Linked DNA regions of Homo sapiens: regions 2, 3, 4, 5, 6 and 7 are each linked to region 1. Evidence: promoter capture Hi-C in 16 types of primary human blood cells and fetal thymus (Javierre and others, 2016). All regions are on one chromosome and are shown on one strand. The core of a region is centred on a gene start or on the middle of the fragment in contact, and the rest is flanking DNA. Distances in the headings are between cores, read along the strand shown.

What was found. Contacts are between HindIII fragments. The CHiCAGO score rates a contact against its expected background, and 5 or more counts as called.
Region 2: a fragment that was not itself captured here is called in contact with the fragment with the promoter of ALCAM in region 1 in 1 of 17 cell types (monocytes); the score reaches 8.9 in monocytes.
Region 3: the fragment with the promoter of TRMT10C here is called in contact with the fragment with the promoter of ALCAM in region 1 in 1 of 17 cell types (naive B cells); the score reaches 5.1 in naive B cells.
Region 4: the fragment with the promoter of ZBTB11-AS1 here is called in contact with the fragment with the promoter of ALCAM in region 1 in 3 of 17 cell types (total B cells, naive B cells and monocytes); the score reaches 11.4 in total B cells.
Region 5: a fragment that was not itself captured here is called in contact with the fragment with the promoter of ALCAM in region 1 in 2 of 17 cell types (total B cells and monocytes); the score reaches 7.8 in total B cells.
Region 6: a fragment that was not itself captured here is called in contact with the fragment with the promoter of ALCAM in region 1 in 4 of 17 cell types (total B cells, naive B cells, monocytes and 1 more); the score reaches 13.6 in total B cells.
Region 7: a fragment that was not itself captured here is called in contact with the fragment with the promoter of ALCAM in region 1 in 1 of 17 cell types (monocytes); the score reaches 8.3 in monocytes.

What each region holds. Positions count from the first base shown.
Region 1 is chr3:105,365,516-105,368,215 of GRCh38, reverse strand. ALCAM (activated leukocyte cell adhesion molecule) reads right to left here and starts at 1,307. Exons shown (of 16, transcript NM_001627.4): 1 at 735-1,307. The coding sequence starts at 807. RefSeq lists silencers at 813-932, 1,263-1,362. The HindIII fragment of the contact is 2,798 bases long and covers 199-2,700 here.
Region 2 is chr3:101,936,899-101,939,598 of GRCh38, reverse strand. No RefSeq gene overlaps it. Among named protein-coding and RNA genes, the nearest start is that of RDUR, 2.6 kb to the left of the region's middle. RefSeq lists an enhancer at 2,563-2,682. The HindIII fragment of the contact is 5,235 bases long and covers 1-2,700 here.
Region 3 is chr3:101,560,545-101,563,479 of GRCh38, reverse strand. TRMT10C (tRNA methyltransferase 10C, mitochondrial RNase P subunit) reads right to left here and starts at 1,612. Exons shown (of 2, transcript NM_017819.4): 1 at 1,477-1,612. RefSeq lists enhancers at 1,477-1,546, 1,557-1,626. The HindIII fragment of the contact is 12,384 bases long and covers 497-2,935 here.
Region 4 is chr3:101,674,984-101,677,683 of GRCh38, reverse strand. ZBTB11-AS1 (ZBTB11 antisense RNA 1) reads right to left here and starts at 1,254. Exons shown (of 1, transcript NR_024407.1): 1 at 1-1,254. It overlaps ZBTB11 (zinc finger and BTB domain containing 11), which reads left to right and starts at 552. Exons shown (of 11, transcript NM_014415.4): 1 at 552-1,079. The coding sequence starts at 770. LOC124906262 (endogenous retrovirus group K member 5 Gag polyprotein) reads right to left here and starts at 1,239. Exons shown (of 3, transcript XM_047449415.1): 1 at 1-1,239. RefSeq lists an enhancer at 860-1,414 and a silencer at 1,131-1,500. The HindIII fragment of the contact is 10,842 bases long and covers 1-2,537 here.
Region 5 is chr3:101,797,145-101,799,965 of GRCh38, reverse strand. All of the region lies in intron 4 of NXPE3 (neurexophilin and PC-esterase domain family member 3), which reads right to left. Among named protein-coding and RNA genes, the nearest start is that of NXPE3, 19 kb to the right of the region's middle. The HindIII fragment of the contact is 7,104 bases long and covers 1-2,821 here.
Region 6 is chr3:101,814,896-101,817,664 of GRCh38, reverse strand. NXPE3 (neurexophilin and PC-esterase domain family member 3) reads right to left here. Exons shown (of 8, transcript NM_145037.4): 7 at 664-870. Among named protein-coding and RNA genes, the nearest start is that of NFKBIZ, 33 kb to the left of the region's middle. The HindIII fragment of the contact is 3,891 bases long and covers 1-2,769 here.
Region 7 is chr3:101,840,413-101,843,112 of GRCh38, reverse strand. It overlaps a transcript of NFKBIZ not described here. Among named protein-coding and RNA genes, the nearest start is that of NFKBIZ, 7.8 kb to the left of the region's middle. RefSeq lists a silencer at 194-488. The HindIII fragment of the contact is 1,070 bases long and covers 774-1,843 here.

The sequences.
Region 1 (2,700 bases), core at 58-2,557:
TCAGTACAGAACTGAGAACTGAGGCTCTATGAGCAGGTCCTGGAAATTCACAAACCTCTCACTGAGGTGTCTCCCAGGCCTACCTACTAATTCCTGTTCTGGCTGTGTTATCTGCCTGCGGTCACCCTTTCACTCACCACCCGCCCAGACAATGGACGGGGACCGCAGGGGGTAACGTTGAAACCACGATTTTAAGCTTTAGCAGGTTTCGCAAGGGGGGCGGGGGGAGGTGATTAAAGTCCTCTCCTTCTCTACCCCTCCCATCCCTTCCTCGGCTCACCAAGGGGAAGTTACTAGGGGATTTATCACGAAAAAGTGCCGGCAGTTATTTCATCCGAGAACTAAGCGAAAGAAAAACTGCTCGGGGCGCAGTGACGTGGACTTGGATACCCAGAGACAGGAGGAACTGTCAGAGGGCAAGAGTCCGCCGCCTAGCTGGGAGCCGCAGGGACAAGGGGAGAGCGTCAGGCGAATCCTGCCCACCCCGGAGCACCAAGTTCCTGGAGATTCACCCAGTTTCCCCAGCTTGATGCCCAAACTTGAGCTAACCAGCCAAGCCCAAACGTGCGGCACAGGTGACCGAGCCCGGGGACAGCTCTGTGCCAGGACAGCGGTCCCCTTACCTCCACCACGCGCCTGGGCGCACTGCCTCGGGGGTGCGAGGCTGGGACGGGGACCTAGGAAACTGCTCCAGGCCCACGTCTGTCTGGGGCTGCTCCCAGGCCCTTGCTCACCTGGCCTGAAGACGGTGGCGGAGATCAAGAGGCAGAAGAGCAGACGGCAGGAACTGGCCCCCTTGGATTCCATATTCCTCCTCCTTCTTGGTGGGCCACTGACGGAGTCCACGCCGCAGGAGGGGGCGTCGTCCCGGGCCCCGCGGTGCCCGCGCGCTGGCGGGTCCCGACGCAGGGGCAGCGTCTTCTCCCAGACACACCGTCCCCTGGGCTGTGGCGCTGCACCTTCGGTTCTCTGCCGCACGCAACTTTCCACCACGCAATGCCCCCAACTCCTCCTCCCTCCCGGTCAACACCAGCCCACGGGCCCTTCGGCTGCTCCTCCGGGGACAACGACCCTCTGTTTCCAGGAGACACTTGAGTAATTCGGAAAGGTGTAAGCGGTTCTTTTCGCTGGTATCTTCTTTTATTTTCCTTGTATTGGAATGATAATAATAATGGCAGTGGCAATGTGCATGAAACGCCAGGTGCTAAGAAGGACTCGCAGGAGGCGGCGACGGGGGGGCGGCGGGTCTCCTCAGGTGGCAGCGGTGGTAGCAGCGGCAGCGGCGGCAGCGGTCTCCGGGCTGCTCTGAGTAGAGGGACTGGAAGGCGTGTGTAAGCTGCCTCTTTCCTCCTCTCCCCGCCTCCTCCCTCCCTCCCGTCTCCTCCCCACTTCCCCGGACGCAGCGCAAAGCAGGTGGTTGAAGCGCGGATCCGCAGCCTAGAGGCGCTGCAGGACTGAGTCCGAGCCCTGAGCCCAGCTCCGGGATCAGGGAGAACCGCGTGCCCCGGTCCTGGAGCCCGGATGAGCGGTGCTTCACCGCGGCTCCGCCCCCAGGGCCAGGTCCGCCAATAAGAAGCAAGCACAGGAGCCGCGCGCGCCAGGGAGAGCCCTGGGACTAACACTTTCTGTGATGTTGCAGCGCCCCAGTGATAAGGCCTCTGGCTTCCAACTGCCCACCCACCCTCGCTGAGGTTTAAAAATCGACTGCCCTCTCCCTCCACCCATACGCCCATCCCACTGACTCATTCCTCAGAGATTTTTCTCCGCCGTGCTGCTGCAGCCTTCTGTCCTGTAAAGAGAATAGTGGGGCAGGGCGGTGGCGGTGGGGAGCGAACCTTGGGTCCAAGAGCGGGAGTGAAGGGAAAAGGAAAGGAAAGGGCAGGAGGAAGTGGCAAAGGTGGAAACTTGCTTCTTGGGAGTTAACAGGAATAGCTACTTGTTGGCAGGGGCAACCCCTGTACTGGACTGATTCCTCCTGTACTTTTCGAATCTCTCTCCTCCCCCTGCTCACCCCCACCACTCCCCTCACACCCGGCTGGCATAGACTTGGTTTTAAAGGAAGACTACGTGAGTCGACTGCCCGGTACCAACAGAAGATATTTGCTTTTCCCGGGGGAAATTAAATCCGGAATTTCTAAACCGTACTTCGTCATACGGATTTTCCCAATGTCTACAAAAGCCCTCTAGAGAGCGTGTCACTTTTTTACTTTGAGTTAAGCGGTGATTTTAAGTTATAGACAGAAAATCCTCAAATTATTTCAGATTAAAAGCCAAGTCCGTCTTGGTCCGTTCCCGAAAGCCAGGCACTCCAGCAGATGGACAGGCTTCTTAGGCAATTTCTAAAGATTGAACCACCTCCCAGGAGGAACATCGGGAAGCTGTGTTGCTTTCAAATCAGGCAGAGAGCATGAAGGAAGATTTTCCTCTAGAACACCGGGGTGGAGCTGTCGGAGCCCTAAGTGGCTCTAAATCAGGGATGCAGGATCACAACTCTCATCACCAAAGAATAATAAAATCTTGGTCCCTGAAGCACTTCGCTGGGGCATTAAATAGCCTTTCGTGCATCACAGGGTCACCCTTTTGTGAGACTGGTCTCCAGCAGAGGATGCCAACTAGTAATCGTTACATACTGCACTTTCATCAGAAAACTGCGAGTTACCAGCGAGATTGGAGACTCGCAACACACAGACACACACACAC
Region 2 (2,700 bases), core at 22-2,521, 3.4 Mb after region 1:
ATTAGGGAAAAGAATGAGATCAGTATTTATTTAGGACTCCACATAAAATGTGCAGCTCTCATCCAATCCTCTCAATTGGCTAGGTAGGGAATGTTATATTCCCTGCTTTATACATAAGGATATCAAGACTCTGGTGAGCTTAACTAACTGGCTCAAGACCAAAAGGGTAGTAAGTAGCAAAACCATGATCTGAACTCAGACTTATCTGACAGCAAAATAGATGCTCTTCCCACCCTGTGTACCACAAAGCCTATAGAATCTTCCTTACTCCATAATTTAGTAGGCACAGGGTGTGAGAAGTAAGGACGAATAAAAAATTACTTGTGAGTTGTGAAAGATGATTCATTAATAGTGGTGTCATTTATAAAAACAAAATAGAGACAATCAGTTGGAGTTTGGAGTTTGATGAACATAAGTTAATGGGCTTCATTTTAGATACACTGAGTTTAAAATCCTGGCTGGTTACCTAAGTAAGAAAGTCTTAACAGCAATTGGAAATTGCTAGATTTTAGAATCATCAGGAGAAAGATTTTGAGATGAAGGGAAAAAAGATTGAAGAAATTCATGTGTAAAGCAATGTGAGTAGATAAGAAGTCACATGAGGCAAAGAATGTGGAGAAGATTTTATTTTATTTATGGAGCAGTAGAAAGAAAAAGCAGCTAGTGAAGGAGGTGGAAGAGAAGTTTCCAGAAAGATAAAAGAACCAGCAGGCTATGGTATCACAGAGGCTATAGAAGGAGAACATTCAACAAACTGAAATTTCTGCAGAGACAACAGGGAGAATGAGGACTGAGACAAGTCCATTAGATTTGTTGGATATGAAACTAAACTCTCAGTGATTTTCCAGAAGGTGGTTTCATAGAGGGGTAAAGGTAGAAACCATATTACAAGGGGTTAAGAAGTGAATGTATAAGCAGGAAGTGAAAGCAGAATTTGTATTCTTTTAGAAGAAGTGTGGTAATAAACGGAAGAAAGATAAGGCAGTAACCTGCTACAGCAGCAGGGTCAGAGGGGGGTTATTTTAGGATACAGAGGGCTGGCCATATTTGTGGCAGAGGAGGAGAGATTGGAGATTGAAGATGGAAGAAAGATAGGGCTTAAAGGATGGAGCAAAACTGAGAGGAGGTGAGCAGTAATAGAATTAAGAGCAGTGTTCTTGGCAAGGAAAAAAGCAAGTTACCTTGTGCTGAGGTAGAAAAAAGGAAAAGAGGGTAACCCTTCAAGAGATATTGAGAGAATTCACGTGGACTGTCCTCATTCTCAGTAAAACATAAAATGAATAGCCAATATCAGGAAGAGAAAAAGATTTTCTCCAAAAGACTGGAGCTCATATTCTAAAGGGAAGAAAAATGTTTATGTTGGTCACAAATAGAAATTCAGTTTTGCAACATTATCAAACTTCAACAATTTCTCAGGGCTACTCTCTATAGCATGTATTTCCTTTCCCAGAATCAAAGCTGTTGTTCTCTAAAAGTACACGTATTTCCCTTGGACTGCATGGTTATAATTTGGACAAGGAAGATAGCCCTTTTGGTTGTCAGAAATAAAGCAACTCTCTGGACTCTTAACTGTGTTCTTTTGAGAAGAAAGTTCAAGATGTTCACTTAGTAATGTTTGCCAAAGCAAGCACTGTTCTCAATGTTTTTTATCAAAGCCTATCGATTATATGATTTTAATTTGTCTACAAGTAACCAATACCATCTTTTAGCAAAACATTCTATTTCATGTGGATTAGAAACAGAAATTTTAAAATAGCCTCAGTTACTGGAGCTGTTTTCCTAGTCCTTTCCATTGTCACCTTTAATCACTAAGATTATAATTATTATATAATTATCATTATCATTCATTGATCTGATACTCCTTGTGGGATATACAGTGTACATGAATATTATTTAATCTCATAACCTTATAGTGTAAATATAATTATTGTCATTCCCACTTTGCAAATAAATAAATAAGATTAGGTCACATAACTTCTCCAGGATCTCAGAGCTAGTAATGGTAGAACCAGTACCAGTCCTAGTCTGATTTAAAAGCCTGTGCCTCTAAAGACTAAGCTGTACCACCTCACAATTCAGTTGGATATTTTGTTACATACAGTTTTTTCTTGTTCTCTAATTTCTTTGGTTACTTAAGAAGTCTCCTTTCTGTCCCCCTCCTCACCATGACAGTATAAATTCTTTGAAATCAGATACAAAGTCTAGTATCCTTGAAACAGTCTAGAATATTGTACATACTCAAAAAATGTAAATGTAAATTGAAATAAGAGTAAAATCAACCCAGAATCTTGCGCCATTTTTCATCACATCTACTTTGTTTCCACTACACTTCCTATGCTCACCACCCCTCTCATTGGTTTCAAGAGAACATGCAAGTTTGAGAATGTAACTATATCGTGAAAAATAACACCATAAAGTGGCTTCTATAAATAAGACCGTTCTTGTCAACTGTGTAAATGCAGTGAAGATGAATATAGATTTTTCTCATCAACAATTACACAGGAAGATTGGAGCTGAAAATTCCCTGATTCCTTCCCCTTAGAGATGATGTTCCCTGGTTCACTCAACAGCTGTTCATTGAGTGTCTTCTACTTGCCTCACCCAGTTCCTGCCTTCTGAGTTCTCAGACAAGTAGGGGAGACAAACAGGTGTTATACAATTACAGAAGAGCCTGGTAATGCCGGAACAGAAGTAGTAAGG
Region 3 (2,935 bases), core at 363-2,862, 3.8 Mb after region 1:
TTAGAAAGACATCTCAAATGCAGGCCGGGTGCAGTGGCTCACTCCTGTAATCCCAGCACTTTGGAAGGCCGAGGAGGGAGGATCGCTTGAGGTCAGGAGTTTGAGACCAGCCTGACCAACATGGCGAAACCCTGTCTCTACTAAAAATACAAAAATTAGCCAGGTGTGGTGGCGCATGCCTGTAATCCCAGGTACTCGTGAGGCTGAAGTGGGGCGATTCTTCTACTTCCCAGGTACTCGTGAGGCTGATGTAGAAGAATCGCTTGAATAAGGGGGGCGGAAGTTGCAGTGAGCCGAGATTTTGCAACAAAATCTGTTGCAGTGAGCGACAGAGTAAGACTGTCTCAAAACAACAAAAACAAACAAAAAACACCTCAAACGCAACAAATCGAAATAACCCCTCTACCTTTGCTTCACAATCTGATCCTCCTTCAATGTTCTGTTTCAAGGGATATTGCTATCCATTGGTATTGTTCCCAACATATATTTCTAAGCTTATTGCGGCCAGGTCAGCAGCATCTCTAGCTATTCTTCACCTCACACTTCAAGTATTCCACCATTACTTTTCACAGCACTCTGGTGCCTATGACAGTACTTCTAACACTGCACTGTAATTGCCTGGTTATCTATTTGCCTCACTAGATGGTAAGGACTAACTAGTGTCCATGAGGACAAGGACTTTGTCTATAATGTTAACATTGAATCCAATGCTTGACAGTATTTGGCTCACAGTAATCACGCAAATATTTTTCTAATACCCTAGATCGATGCTTCCTTCATTAAAAAAAAAAAAAAGAAAAAAAAAGTTCAGCCTCCCTTTATTATTTTTTTTGAGACGGAGTCTCGCTCTGTCACTCCAGGCTGGAGTATAGTGGCGCGATCTCGGCGCAAGCTCCGCCTCCCAGGGTTCACGCCATTCTCCTGCCTCAGCCTCCCGAGTAGCTGGGACTACAGGCACCCGCCACCACGCCCGGCTATTTTGTATTTTTAGTACAGACGGGGTTTCACTGTGTTAGCCAGGATGGTCTCGGATCTCCTGACCTCGTGATCCGCCCACCTCGGCCTCTCATTGTGCTGGGATTACAGGCGTGAGCCACCGCGCCCGGCTCAGCCTCCCTTTAAAGAGAAAACAATTTACTTTAGAATCCCGGAAATATTTAACTGGGGTCCCCAGGCCCCAATCTAATAAACATTGATTTCAGAAGGAGTTTTAAAAGTTTTATTCTTGTAACTGGCAAGGACTTAGAATACCACAGAAATGAAAACCCCAATTGTAAAAAGCAATCAAGTACATCATTTCAGGAACCACTGATTTTGTTTCAGGTACTGTACTAGTTATAGTTTATTAAAATCACTGGGCTTCCTCTTACCCGTGGGCCTTCCGAACGCACATGCTCCACTAAGTGCATCTTGGAACGTCTCCGGCGTCCTCCCACCCCCAACACACACATTAGGCGAAAGAAGAAACTCGCTTACCAGGAGTGCAGAGATAGTGGTTCCCGCTGGCGCAAAGAACAGGGACCCTGGAGGACGAAGGACTCCGACGTACGGACGCCCAGGGATCCGCGCCGAAGCTAGCACGCAGCCTACCCAACAGTCTACACAGCCGACCAGAGCGGTCGCTGGGGCTCAGCCGGAAGTTCCGCCCTCTCCCTTCCGGCGCTGCTTTTTACGTCACAGCACGCAAAGAACGCTTTCTTGGCTAAAAGAAGCGCCTTAGAGGAGACGGCTGTCAGTAGGCAACTGGGTACTCGAAGACTACGCTCTCAGTTGTCACGGAGTTGTAGCTGTGTTGTGTTGTGTTTTCCTCCATATATCCTAAAAACTTCTTCTGGGCCGGGCCAGTTGGCTTACGCCTGTTATCCCAGTGCTTTGGGCGGCCGAGGCGGGCGGATCACTTGGGGTCAGGAGTTTGAGACCAGCCTGGCCAACATAGTGAAACCCCGTCTCTACTAAAAATACAAAAATTAGCCAGGTGTGGTGGCGCGCGCCTGTAATCCCAGTTGCTCGGGAGGCTGAGGCAGGAGAATCGCTTGAACCTGGGAGGCGGAGGTTGCGGTGAGCTGAGATCGCGCCACTGCACTCCAGCCTGGGCGACAGAGCAAGACTCTCTGTCTCAAAAAAAAAAAAAAAAAAAAAAAAAAACTGTTTCTAATCCTCTTTTCAACCTACTCTCTGTTTGGGCCCTGTATTTATAAACATTTGCTGACAGAGTACTAAAATAAAGTATGTTTTTTTCACACGTCTTCTTACTCAGCTTCAAACTCCTTGACGCTAGGACTTTAAACTCCTAATCTTTTTGACCAGTTTATCACCAGTACCTGGCACTATGCTTGGAACGTGATAAGCCACGGTAAGTTTCTGTCTCCTCCTAGCTCATTTGGAAAGTTTAATGTGAAATGAAATTAAAACACATTTGTAAATTGGTGGCCTTTGGGGCCAATTCAGCCTCCACATATATTTGTAACCAAACACAGAATGAACATATTCTGCAGCCATTCTACTCCTAGTAATATACCCAAAGAAATTGAAAGCAGAGACACAAACAGACACTTGTACTCTAATGTCATTGTAGCATTATTGATAATAACCAAAAGGTGGAAGCAACCCAAATATCCATGAACAGATGAATAGATTAAAAAATGTTGCATGTACATACAATGGAATATTATTCAGTCTTAAAAAGGAATGAAGTTCTGATACATGGTACAACATGGATAAACTTTGGAGGCATTATACACTGAGATAAGCCAGGCACAAAAGGACAAATATTGTATAAGTCCACCTATATGAAGTGCCTAGAATAGTCAAATCATAAAGAAAGAAAGTAGAATAGTGTTTACCAGGGGCTGGGGAAAGGGAAGAATGGGCAGTTACTGTTTAATAGGTATGAATTTTCAGTATGGGATGATGAAAAAGTTCTGGAGATGGATAG
Region 4 (2,700 bases), core at 5-2,504, 3.7 Mb after region 1:
TTGACTATAAATGCTGATAATTCCAAAAGAATCTCGACTCTTCCTTGAGTAGTCTGGAGCTAGCAGGTGCAAGTTTAGAAACAATAACTCATCACTGAGGGAGGCACTGAAAATTTTATAACTGTTAACTGGAATCTAAATTTCCATGTAAATGGGCTGTCTCTGGTCCCGTGTCAAGAGACTAATATTTTTCCAGAAGCCTGAAAATATGCTTTTATGATGTTGGGAGTCTCAAACGTAAAAACGGACTCCTAACCCTCTGGATGTTTCGGCTGAACTCTCAACTGTCCACCAGCTCCCCCTACACGTGGCTCCTTAGAAAGCGTGGAAAAGGGAAAAATGAAAAGAGAAACTGCCAGGACTTAAGATGTCTGCTTAAAGACTCCCTCGAACTGCAGTGAAGGGTCCTACCCGCTTCCAAAATGTCCACCCGCATTCCTGACGTCACTGGATCGGCTCCATCAAGCCAGAAAACGAGAGTGCGCTCCAATCAGGGCTCAGTCCCCGCCCTTGCCTTGCGTCACTTCCGGTGGTGCAGCAGCCATTTTGTCAGTCGCCAGCGGATCCCGCGCGCTGGAGAAGTGCAGTTCCCCCTGGTTACCAACTCGCCCGCTTTTCCTTCGGACTAAGGGAGCCGTCGAAGAGCGCTCGCCAAAGGCGCAGCCGTTTCTCCCTACGGTGCCGCCGCTCCTCCTGCAGCCGCCCGTAGGTAGCGGGCCGTTTTCCTCACCTGTCCCTGACAGGCGCCCTCAGGGAGCCGCGGTCCGCGATGTCAAGCGAGGAAAGCTACCGGGCCATCCTGCGTTACCTGACGAACGAGCGCGAGCCGTATGCGCCGGGCACCGAGGGCAATGTCAAGCGTAAAATCCGAAAAGCTGCCGCCTGCTACGTGGTGCGCGGCGGGACTCTGTATTACCAGCGGCGGCAGCGGCACCGCAAGACCTTCGCGGAGCTGGAGGTGGTGCTGCAGCCGGAGCGACGCCGGGACCTCATCGAGGCGGCGCACCTGGGTCCCGGCGGCACTCACCACACCCGGCATCAGACCTGGCACTACTTGTCCAAGACGTACTGGTGGCGAGGTGAGACCTAGCCCGCGGCGAGGGGGCGGGCTGGCGACTCGTTGCCTGGGCAAGGCTCGCTGGCGAGGCCTATGCGTACCCACGAGTCGGAGGGTCTCGGACGCCTCTGGGCGGCGGAGCTGCTGCCAGGCGGAGCCGAGAGGGTGGGGGACGCGAAAGGAGCCGCACTTCCCACAGGAAGGAGGCCGGCGAAGCTGGGGGCGGGCCCTGGCCCTGGGTGGGACCAAGGGGGCTTCCCCGGAGGCCGGGCCAGCCGCGGGGAGGGGCCGGACGCCTGGGCTGCGCCAGGTCCGCCTCCTTGGGCGGCCCCTTGAGGCTGTAGGCCCCGGCCCTCTGGAGGTGGCGTGTGGCTCGCGGCAGTGGAGGCTGCGGGGTGCACGTTTTCGACTGTGCTGACGTTTGGAAGGGGGGACGAGTCACCCGAAGCCGGGTCTCCCGTTTCTTTAGTGCTGCGCTTGGGTTTTGGCGAGCGAGTATGAGCTGCTCTGGACACATTCGCTAGTGTTCCTCAAATTTTGCCGCTGCTGCGTAAATAAGGAATAATACAATTATTTGCAGAAGTGATAAGGAGTGATTGAGAAATCGCCTTGAGCGTTTTTTTTTAAGAACAAGAAGTAAATGTAAAAGATATCAGTTACTGTTTTTGTTGTTTGGTTTTGCGGGGGCGGGGTGTTTGAGTAGACACGGGTCTCGCCTCGTTCCCCAAGCTGGTCTCCATCTGGCCTCAAGCCATCCTCCCGCCTCGGCCTCCCAAAGTGTTGGGATTTCAGGCATGAGCCACGGCGCCCAGCTTGATATTCGTAACTCTGAATGTTTTAATAATCTTTCCCCTAATGATGTGAAAAACGCGTTTGGGAACTGTGTAGCATTGTATATACGCAGAAAAGGTACGATTACTGTGACTTTTTGATTGTCAAAAAATACAGCTCTGAAGTTACTTGACTCCTTGGGAACCAGTTGTAAGGGAGGATAGCAAGTGTCCTTGGCTTCTTAACCATCTTCACTCTCCACAGTTAATGAATATTCAAACTGTCAGAATTAGTTAATAGTTTATAGTCCCATTTAAGAAATTTTGTTAGGAACAGTGCTGTCACTCTCCAATATGGCTACAGAAAAGTTATTTCATTCAAATCTTGGTTACTTCGTCTGTGAATAACGAAATTACTGAATAGTTTCTAAAGTTCTTTTCGGTTTATAAACATCATCAAGTTTATTCGTTTACGAACTATTGGATAATCAAATTCTTCCATTTATTTTCCACTTTAAACCAATATCTGAATTAAATTCCTGTAAGGACAGACAAATGCGAAGATTAAATTATGAGGTAATGAAGTAATCAGTGCATTTTGTTTGGATGGGTTTGGGTAGACATTAGTTTGTTGAACAAATGTCTCAGATTTAATACTTCAGGATTTGTTAAAGATGATAATTGTAACTATAGGTAACATTGATCAAGCTTGTATATGCAGGATGTAGTCGTTAGCCCTTGACATTTATTTAACCTTCATAAAACCTTAATACTTATCTCCCTTTTTTGGAGACAGAGCGTAGGGGGTCTTGCTTGGTGCAGTGACAACGATCACAGCTCACTGTAGCCTCGACCTCCTAGGCTCAGATGATC
Region 5 (2,821 bases), core at 93-2,592, 3.6 Mb after region 1:
GGCTAAGAAAAAAAGAGGGAGGACACAAATTATTAATATCAGAAATGAAAGAGAAGCCATCACTACAGATCCCATGGACATTAAAGGAATAAAGGAATATTATGAACAATTCTATGCCCATAAATTTGATAACCCAGATGAAATGGACCAATTCCTTGAAGGATACAATCCATAAAGAATGCACCTAATGATGCAAAAGTAATATTATAACTAGTGGAAATCAAATATAAAAGAATGAAGTAGGCCAGATGCGGTGGCTCACACCTGTAATCCCAGCACTTTGGGAGGCCGAGGCAGATGGATCACAAGGTCAGGAGTTCAAGACCAGCCTGGCCAACATGCTGAAACCCCATCTCTACTAAAAATACAAAAATTAGCTGAGTGTGGTGGCAGGCGCCTGTAATCCCAACTACTCGGAAGGCTGAGGGAGAGAACTGCTTGAACCCAGGAGGCAGAGGTTGCAGTGAGCCAAGATCGCGCCACTGCACTCCAGGCTGGGCGACAGAATGAGACTCCATCTCAAAAAAATAATAACAAATAAATAAATAAGAATGAGTAGGGCTTTCTTCATCACTTAGAGCAGGAAGTTAAGATATATTATGCTGTTGGGGAAATAAAAGGACTAGATACATTATTTAATGTTATATATAGAAATAAAATTAATTTTACAAATTGTGGAAGGAGAATGAAGCAGAGGCCTCATCTTTCATTATGTTAACAGTAGTAGATCAGGTGCAGTGGCTCATGCCTGTAATTCCAACACTTCGGGAGGCTGAAGCAGAAGAACTGCTTGAGGCCAGGAGTTCAAGACCAACCTGGGAAACATAGCAAGACCCCCATCTCTACAAGAATTTTTTTTTAAAGTTAGCCAAGCGTGGTGGCATATGCCTGTAGTCCTAGCTACACGGAAGGCTGAGCTGGGAAGATCACTGAACCCAGGAGCTCCAGGTTGTAGTGAGCTATGATCACACCATGGAACTCCAGCCAGAGCAACAGAGCAAGACCTTGTCTCTAACAAATAAATAAATAAATATAAATTAAAACTGGGCTGGGCACAGTGGCTCACGCCTGTAATCCTAGCACTTTGGGAGGCAGAGGTGGACAGATCGGGATCGTTTGAGCTCAAGAGTTCGAGACTAGTCTGGGCAACATGGTGAAACCCTGTCTCTACTAAAAATACAAAAATTTAGCTGGGTGTGGTGGTACACACCTGTAATCTCAGCTACTCAGGAGGCTGAAGCACGAGAATTGCTTGAACCCAGGAGGCAGAGGTTGCAGTACGCTGAGATTGTGCCACTGCACTCCAGCCTGGACAACAGAACAAGACTTTGTCTCAAAAACTTTAAAAGAAAAAAAAAAAAAATATATATATATATATAGACACACATATATATACATTATATATATAGACATATATCTACATACATATATACATACATATATACACATACATATATATGTGTATATATATGAGGATTGCTTGAGCCCAGGAGTTAGAGGTTACAGTGAACAATGACTGTGCCACCGCACTCTAGCCTGGGCAACAGAGTGAGACCCTGTGCTTAAAAGAAAGAAAAATTAAAAAACAGCAGTAGCAGAAACAGCCAACATTTATTGTGATCACTTATGTGCTGGATACTCTTGTAAACAGTTTACATGAATCTTTAAATTCAATGTTCAAATTATCACATGTGGTAAGTCCTGTTATTATGTCCATTTTAGAGACAAGGAAACTGAGGCAAAGAATAGCTTAATAAGCCAAAAAACACATGAAAAAATGCTCATCATCACTGGCCATCAGAGAAATGCAAATCAAAACCACTATGAGATATCATCTCACACCAGTTAGAATGGCAATCATTAAAAAGTCAGGAAACAACAGGTGCTGGAGAGGATGTGGAGAAATAGGAACACTTTTACACTGTTGGTGGGACTGTAAACTAGTTCAACCATTGTGGAAGTCAGTGTGGCGATTCCTCAGGGATCTAGAACTAGAAATACCATTTGACCCAGCCATCCCATTACTGGGTATATACCCAAATGACTATAAATCATGCTGCTATAAAGACACATGCACACGTATGTTTATTGCGGCATTATTCACAATAGCAAAGACTTGGAACCAACCCAAATGTCCAACAATCATAGACTGGATTAAGAAAATGTGGCACATATACACCATGGAATACTATGCAGCCATAAAAAATGATGAGTTCATGTCCTTTGTAGGGACATGGATGAAATTGGAAACCATCATTCTCAGTAAACTATCGCAAGAACAAAAAACCAAACACCGCATATTCTCACTCATAGGTGGGAATTGAACAATGAGATCACATGGACACAGGAAGGGGAATATCACACTCTGGGGACTGTGGTGGGGTCGGGGGAGGGGGGAGGGATAGCATTGGGAGATATACCTAATGCTAGATGACACGTTAGTGGGTGCAGCGCACCAGCATGGCACATGTATACATATGTAACTAACCTGCACAATGTGCACATGTACCCTAAAACTTAAAGTATAATAAAAAAAAAAAATTAAAAAAAAAAAAGAATAGCTTAATAATTTGCTCAAGGCCATGTAGGTTAGAAGCAGCAGAGGATTAGAAGCCAAGCTGTCTGAATTAAGACCTGTGTTCTTAACCACCCATGATACACTGCCTCATATGAACAAGTCAGGAGATACCTTGTAAAGTTCACAAATCAAGATATAAGTATGTAATGTATAATTAGTGCTAACTACCCAAATAATTAAAAATAAGCAACTACATTCACTCAGAGTAAAGAATGGGGAGGGGATCCAACTGTGTACTTAATA
Region 6 (2,769 bases), core at 63-2,562, 3.6 Mb after region 1:
CCTTGTGAAGAAGGGGTGGGCCTCCAACCACTGGGGTTTTGTTCTGAGTCTGGAGAACAGCCCCAGAGCCAAGCAGAGAAATCAAGAAGCTAAGAATGCTGGAACTTACCCAGACTCCCTCAGGAGGAGCCAACTCCATCTCAGAGTCACACCAATGGTAGGCCCAATGGATGACACAGGGATGGCTTTGCTGCAAGGATGCAATATGGACTACCATAGGTCTGGCTGCTTCCTTCTACTCAAAGCTACTATAAACTTGGAGTTGGATGAGACAGAACTAGGGGAGAAACAACTGGAAATGCCCACCTCTATTTTACAACCCAGAATATTAGAAGGGAAAGACACCTGTGAAGTGACATGGTCCAGCTGTCTCATCTCACACATGGAGAAATGAAGCCCTAAAAAGTAAATGACTTGTCCAAAGTCATACAGCTCATCAGTGACATAAACCTCAATGAGAACCCAGTGCTTCCATGAGTACAACACAACACAGCTATTGATCAGAAACTGTCACACATCTCTCCAGGGTTTGGGTACCTCTTTAGTCCTACACAGAAATATATGTTTCCTCACCTGATAACCTTTCTTCAGGCACCTGAGTGAGTCTGCTTATTTCAAAGCTGATGTGGGAAAGAGTTACGAAACAAAAGGCACAGTACCAACCTGGAACAAATGTAGTAAGGTATTCAAACCATTGCCTGATTGTTGAGTCACCAAATAAATGCACCACTTTTCTTTGTAAGCACTCTGTAATGTTGTCAGGGTCATTAAACTGACGCATCTTAAACTTTCTGGGCCTCCACTGGTCTTTATAATAATACCCAGAAGGAAAAGTTCCTGAGCCTTGAGATAGTTCTAGACTGTTAGTTTCTGCAAAGAAAAAAGAAAAACAAATATTTTAATATTCTCCTCCAACAATAGATGAAAAATGTCCCAAGAAACAATTATGCCCATGTATTTGTTAGCCTGATAGCATGTGGGAAACATTTCCTGCTGTCAGACCTCAAATCCCAGACTTTTCTCCTGATTAAAAAAAGGTTTTCCACAGCCATAAAAAAGAATGAGTTCATGTCCTTTGCAGGGACATGGATGAAGCTGGAAGTCATCATTCTCAGCAAACTAACACAGGAACAGAAAACCAAACACCACATGTTCTCACTCATAAGTAGGAGTTGAACAATGAGAACACATGGACACAGGGAGAGGAACATCACACACCGTGGCCTGTCGGGGGGTTGGGGGGAAGGGGAGGGAGAGCATTAGGACAAATACAAGGCTTAAAACCTAGATGATGGGTTGACAGGTGCAGCAAACTACATGTATACCTATGTAATAAACCTGCACATTCTGCACATGTATCCCAGAACTTAAAAGTAAAATTAAAAAAAAAAAAGGTTTTCCTTTGTACAAAAATGGGAAGATCTGAAATGGGCATGAAGGTATTGGTGGACAGAAAGGAAAGGAGGGACTTTCAGCATTCCCTCTGCTTACATTTTTTTTGAGATGGAGTCTCACTCTTTTTGCCCAGGCTGGAGTGCAGTGGCACAATCTCGGCTCACTGCAACCTCCGCCTCCTGGGTTCAAGTGATTCTCCTGCCTCAGCCTCCCAAGTAACTGGGATTACAGGCACGCATTACCATGCCTGGCTAAGTTTTGCTTTTTTTTTTTCCGAGACAGAGTCTCGCTCTGTCGCCAGGCTGGAGTGCAGTGGCATGATCTCAGCTCACTGCAACCTCTGCCTCCTGGGTTCAAGCGATTCTCCTGCCTCAGCCTCCCGAGTAGCTGGGAGTACAGGCGTGTACCACCACACCCAGTTAATTTTTGTATTTTTAGTAGAGATAGGGTTTCATCACGTTGGCCAAGATGGTCTCAATCTCTTGACGTTGTGATCACCCACCTCGGCCTCCCAAAGTGCTGGGATTACAGGCGTGAGCCACCACGCCTGGCCAATTTTTGCACTTTTAGTACAGATGGGGTTTCACTATGTTGGCCAGGCTGATCTCAAACTTCTGATCTCAAGTGATCCGCCCGCCTCGACCTCCCAAAGTGCTAGAATTACAGGCGTGAGCCACCATGCCCAGCCTGATTACATATGTTTTTATCAAAGCCAAATATAAAGGAAGACAAAACCAAAGGAAATGTGTGGACATAAGCATTTATCCAGCATTCTCCCAGAAGAGAACAGTTTCTCACCCACATGCCTGCGAGGCAAGTAACAACTTAGACTAATACTTTACACATACAGAGTAGTATTAGTTCACTGTTTTCAGCCCATTAAAAGCAAAGTTAGAATCCATGAATCCCATCTTCAAATTTTAATTTTAATTCCAAAAAAACACCACTTAATATGGAGAACAAACTAATGGCAGACAATCTAACGGATTATTCTCCATTATACAAAAGGTTCAGAAAGTCTTTATATATAATGAACAATGCTAAAAATACATCACCAATGTGTACCTCCTGGTTGTAACCTAGTTACACTTGATAACACAAGCAAAACGACCTTTCAGAGGGAAAGTCAACATCCTTCTGCCCTAACACCTCCTGTAGAAAATGCCACACGTTACATGCTTCAAAACAGACTGTGATGGCTAATATTTCTTGCAAGTTTACTCTGCCTCAGACACTATTCTGAGCAAACGTATTATCTCATATGCTCACAGTAACTCTTTGAAGTAGGTCCTATCACTATCCCTACCTTTCAGAACAGCTAAACAACTTGACCAAGGTCCCAGAGCTGAGCTAGTAAGGAGCAAAGCCAGCACC
Region 7 (2,700 bases), core at 59-2,558, 3.5 Mb after region 1:
GTCTTCTGTAAAACCGGATGTTAAGAAATTTGCAAAGATGTGAAACAATACTGTTTGCATGAAGTTTTTTTTTTTTTTTTTTTTTTTTTTTTAGAAAATACAGTTTTTAAAAATAAATTAGTAAGTACAGATTTAAATAATTTTTAGGGATCGAATGTAGGCAATGTCCTATCAGTCAACTCAAAAGTTCCAGATTGGACTCATAATTGTTGAACACCTGGTTCTGAAACCCTCCTCTCTTCTCCATCTCTAATTTCCACTATCCAAGACAGGCCTTTATCTCTTACTTGATGCAAATGATCACCCATCCAGCCTTGCCCACTTAAAACCCATCCTCCAGACTGCCATCGGCATACCAATGGAATGCTGGAATGCCAGGAATTCTTCTAAGAATTCCTCCACACCAGGGGTGTTCAATCTTTTGGCTTCCCTGGGCCACACTGGAAGAAGAATTGTCTTGGGCCACACATAAAATACACTAACACTAATGGCAGCTGAAGAGCTAAAAAAAAAAAAAAAAGAAAAGAAAAGAAAATGAAAAAAGAAAAAGAAAAAACATCACAAAAGAATCTCATAATGTTTTAAGAGAGTTTATGAATTTGTGTTGGGCCACATTCAAAGCCATCCTGGGCCACATGCAGCCCATGGGCCACAGGTTGGACAAGCTTGCTCTACACTATTTAAAAATCCTTCAGTGGCTCTCTACTGCTTTTAGCATGGAGTCCAGTCTTCTTAGAATGACAGATGTCCAAGTCCTGCCTTCCTCACAAGCTTCATCTTCCTCATTACCTTCAGTAACACGAAACTGAGTATAGTTTCCCACAGCTCTGAGACTTTGCTCTTGCTGTTCTTCTCTCCTCTTCCTCAACCAAAATCTCATGCTCACTTAATACCCAACACTCACTCAAGACTCACTTAATATCCAACACTTCTGGAGCCTTTCCTGACCCTCCCTTCCTCCCCTGACCCCAACTCTCAACCCCACTTCTGGACTAAGGGCCTTTCCTCTCAGTCCCCACACAGACTTCTATCATAGCTCTTAGGATGTGCTAAAATTAACCATTTATGAGTCTGTCTCCTCTATTCCACTATAAGCTCCCAAGACATGTATCCCTTGTCAATAGCCAAGTACCTGTTACTTAGTAGGTAGTTACTTGGTACATATTTAACTGGATGGTAGAAACAAGTGGAAATGCTTCCAAAATTATTTTATGTCAATACCGTACAGACATCAAAACAAATACTTTGGCCCCTTGAATTAGAATCTCCTCATTCTCTGCACTTGGATTATTATAAAACTATTTTCATCTATCTTGTAAATATAAAAACCCAGCTGCCTTTTGCCCAGAATTCTTTGTAAAGAACATAAAATCTTTCAGGAGCTTTCAAAACAGATATCATCTTATATGTTGATTTGTTGAATGCTTTTCCTTAAAAATAATAATTTATTATCCCCATAGCAATGTAAAACATACTTCAACATCTCAAGAAACATTTAAACTTCAGGGTATTCTAACAGATTTTTCTAATGCAGATGAGTAAATCAGACCACATATTTTCAAATTCTAGTTATTCTTCAATATGGTAGTGCTTTATAAATGTCAGGTACTTTTCTAAGTACTGGGGCACAGCGGTACCTCAGACAAACACTAATCTCTGTCTTTGTGGAGCTTATACCTGGCTGTATGAACATTCTGGTCCATATGGTATCCATGTAATAGAAACAATTACTACTTCTGAGACATATGAACTCAGTTCTACTGGCACTTATATACTTCCCAATAGGCCACCTGACCAACCAGGCTATGGCACAGACAGCTGTAGTTAGTAAGTTCTGTAAGCTTTTTCCTTACAAGAGTGTAACCTATTCTTTTGTATGTTTTAATCTGGAAAGATCAAAAGGTTGTCTTTAAAAGTAATTCTCTAGGTCCTGTTTGCAGCAAATTATTAGCACCTGATATCAAAGCACAGTATACCATATTGAGGAAATTTCTCCAACCAGTAACCTAATCATCATACAGATGAATTAGCAAAAGGTTTGCACATCTCAGAACATCCTGCTCAGTGCTAAGAGAATAAACTTGATACCCCGTTAAGTACTGTATGTATAGTATGTACAACTTTGCATATTATGGACTGATTGTGTGAAGACAAAATTAATAGTGTCCCCGGAGTCATCTCTCTGCAACTTCCTTTTATATGAAAGCATCAAAGGAGATGCCATATACCACTTTGTCCTCTTCACAAATATTTTCTGAGCACCCACTAGGTGTGAGTGAGTCGTCCACTATGTAAAGTAACTCCACTGCTTTCCAGCAGGTACACAAGGTCTGTCCCCTGATGGGCAGCCAGAGAGGCACCTTGCACAAAGTCAGGTCACACAGTTGAACATCCCAATAAACAGATGCCTTATAAACAGACCCTGAATCACAGCAATGCTACAGTACCCTGAAATACCTTTGCAGCATCCCATCTTTCTAGCCCAGCAGAAATCCAAGTGTTTAAACTGAAAACAAAACAAATTTTTCTTCCCCTTTAACATTTCATTTCTAAAGAAATGAAAAGTTCTTCCATTTGATTTCAGAAAATATCCACATACTATAAAATGCATATGGTTCATACAAAATCATATATATGAAGGAGTGATGTTTGGTGTTAGTCTGAAGGGCTACCTGTGTACCACACTTTCTAATAGTAATA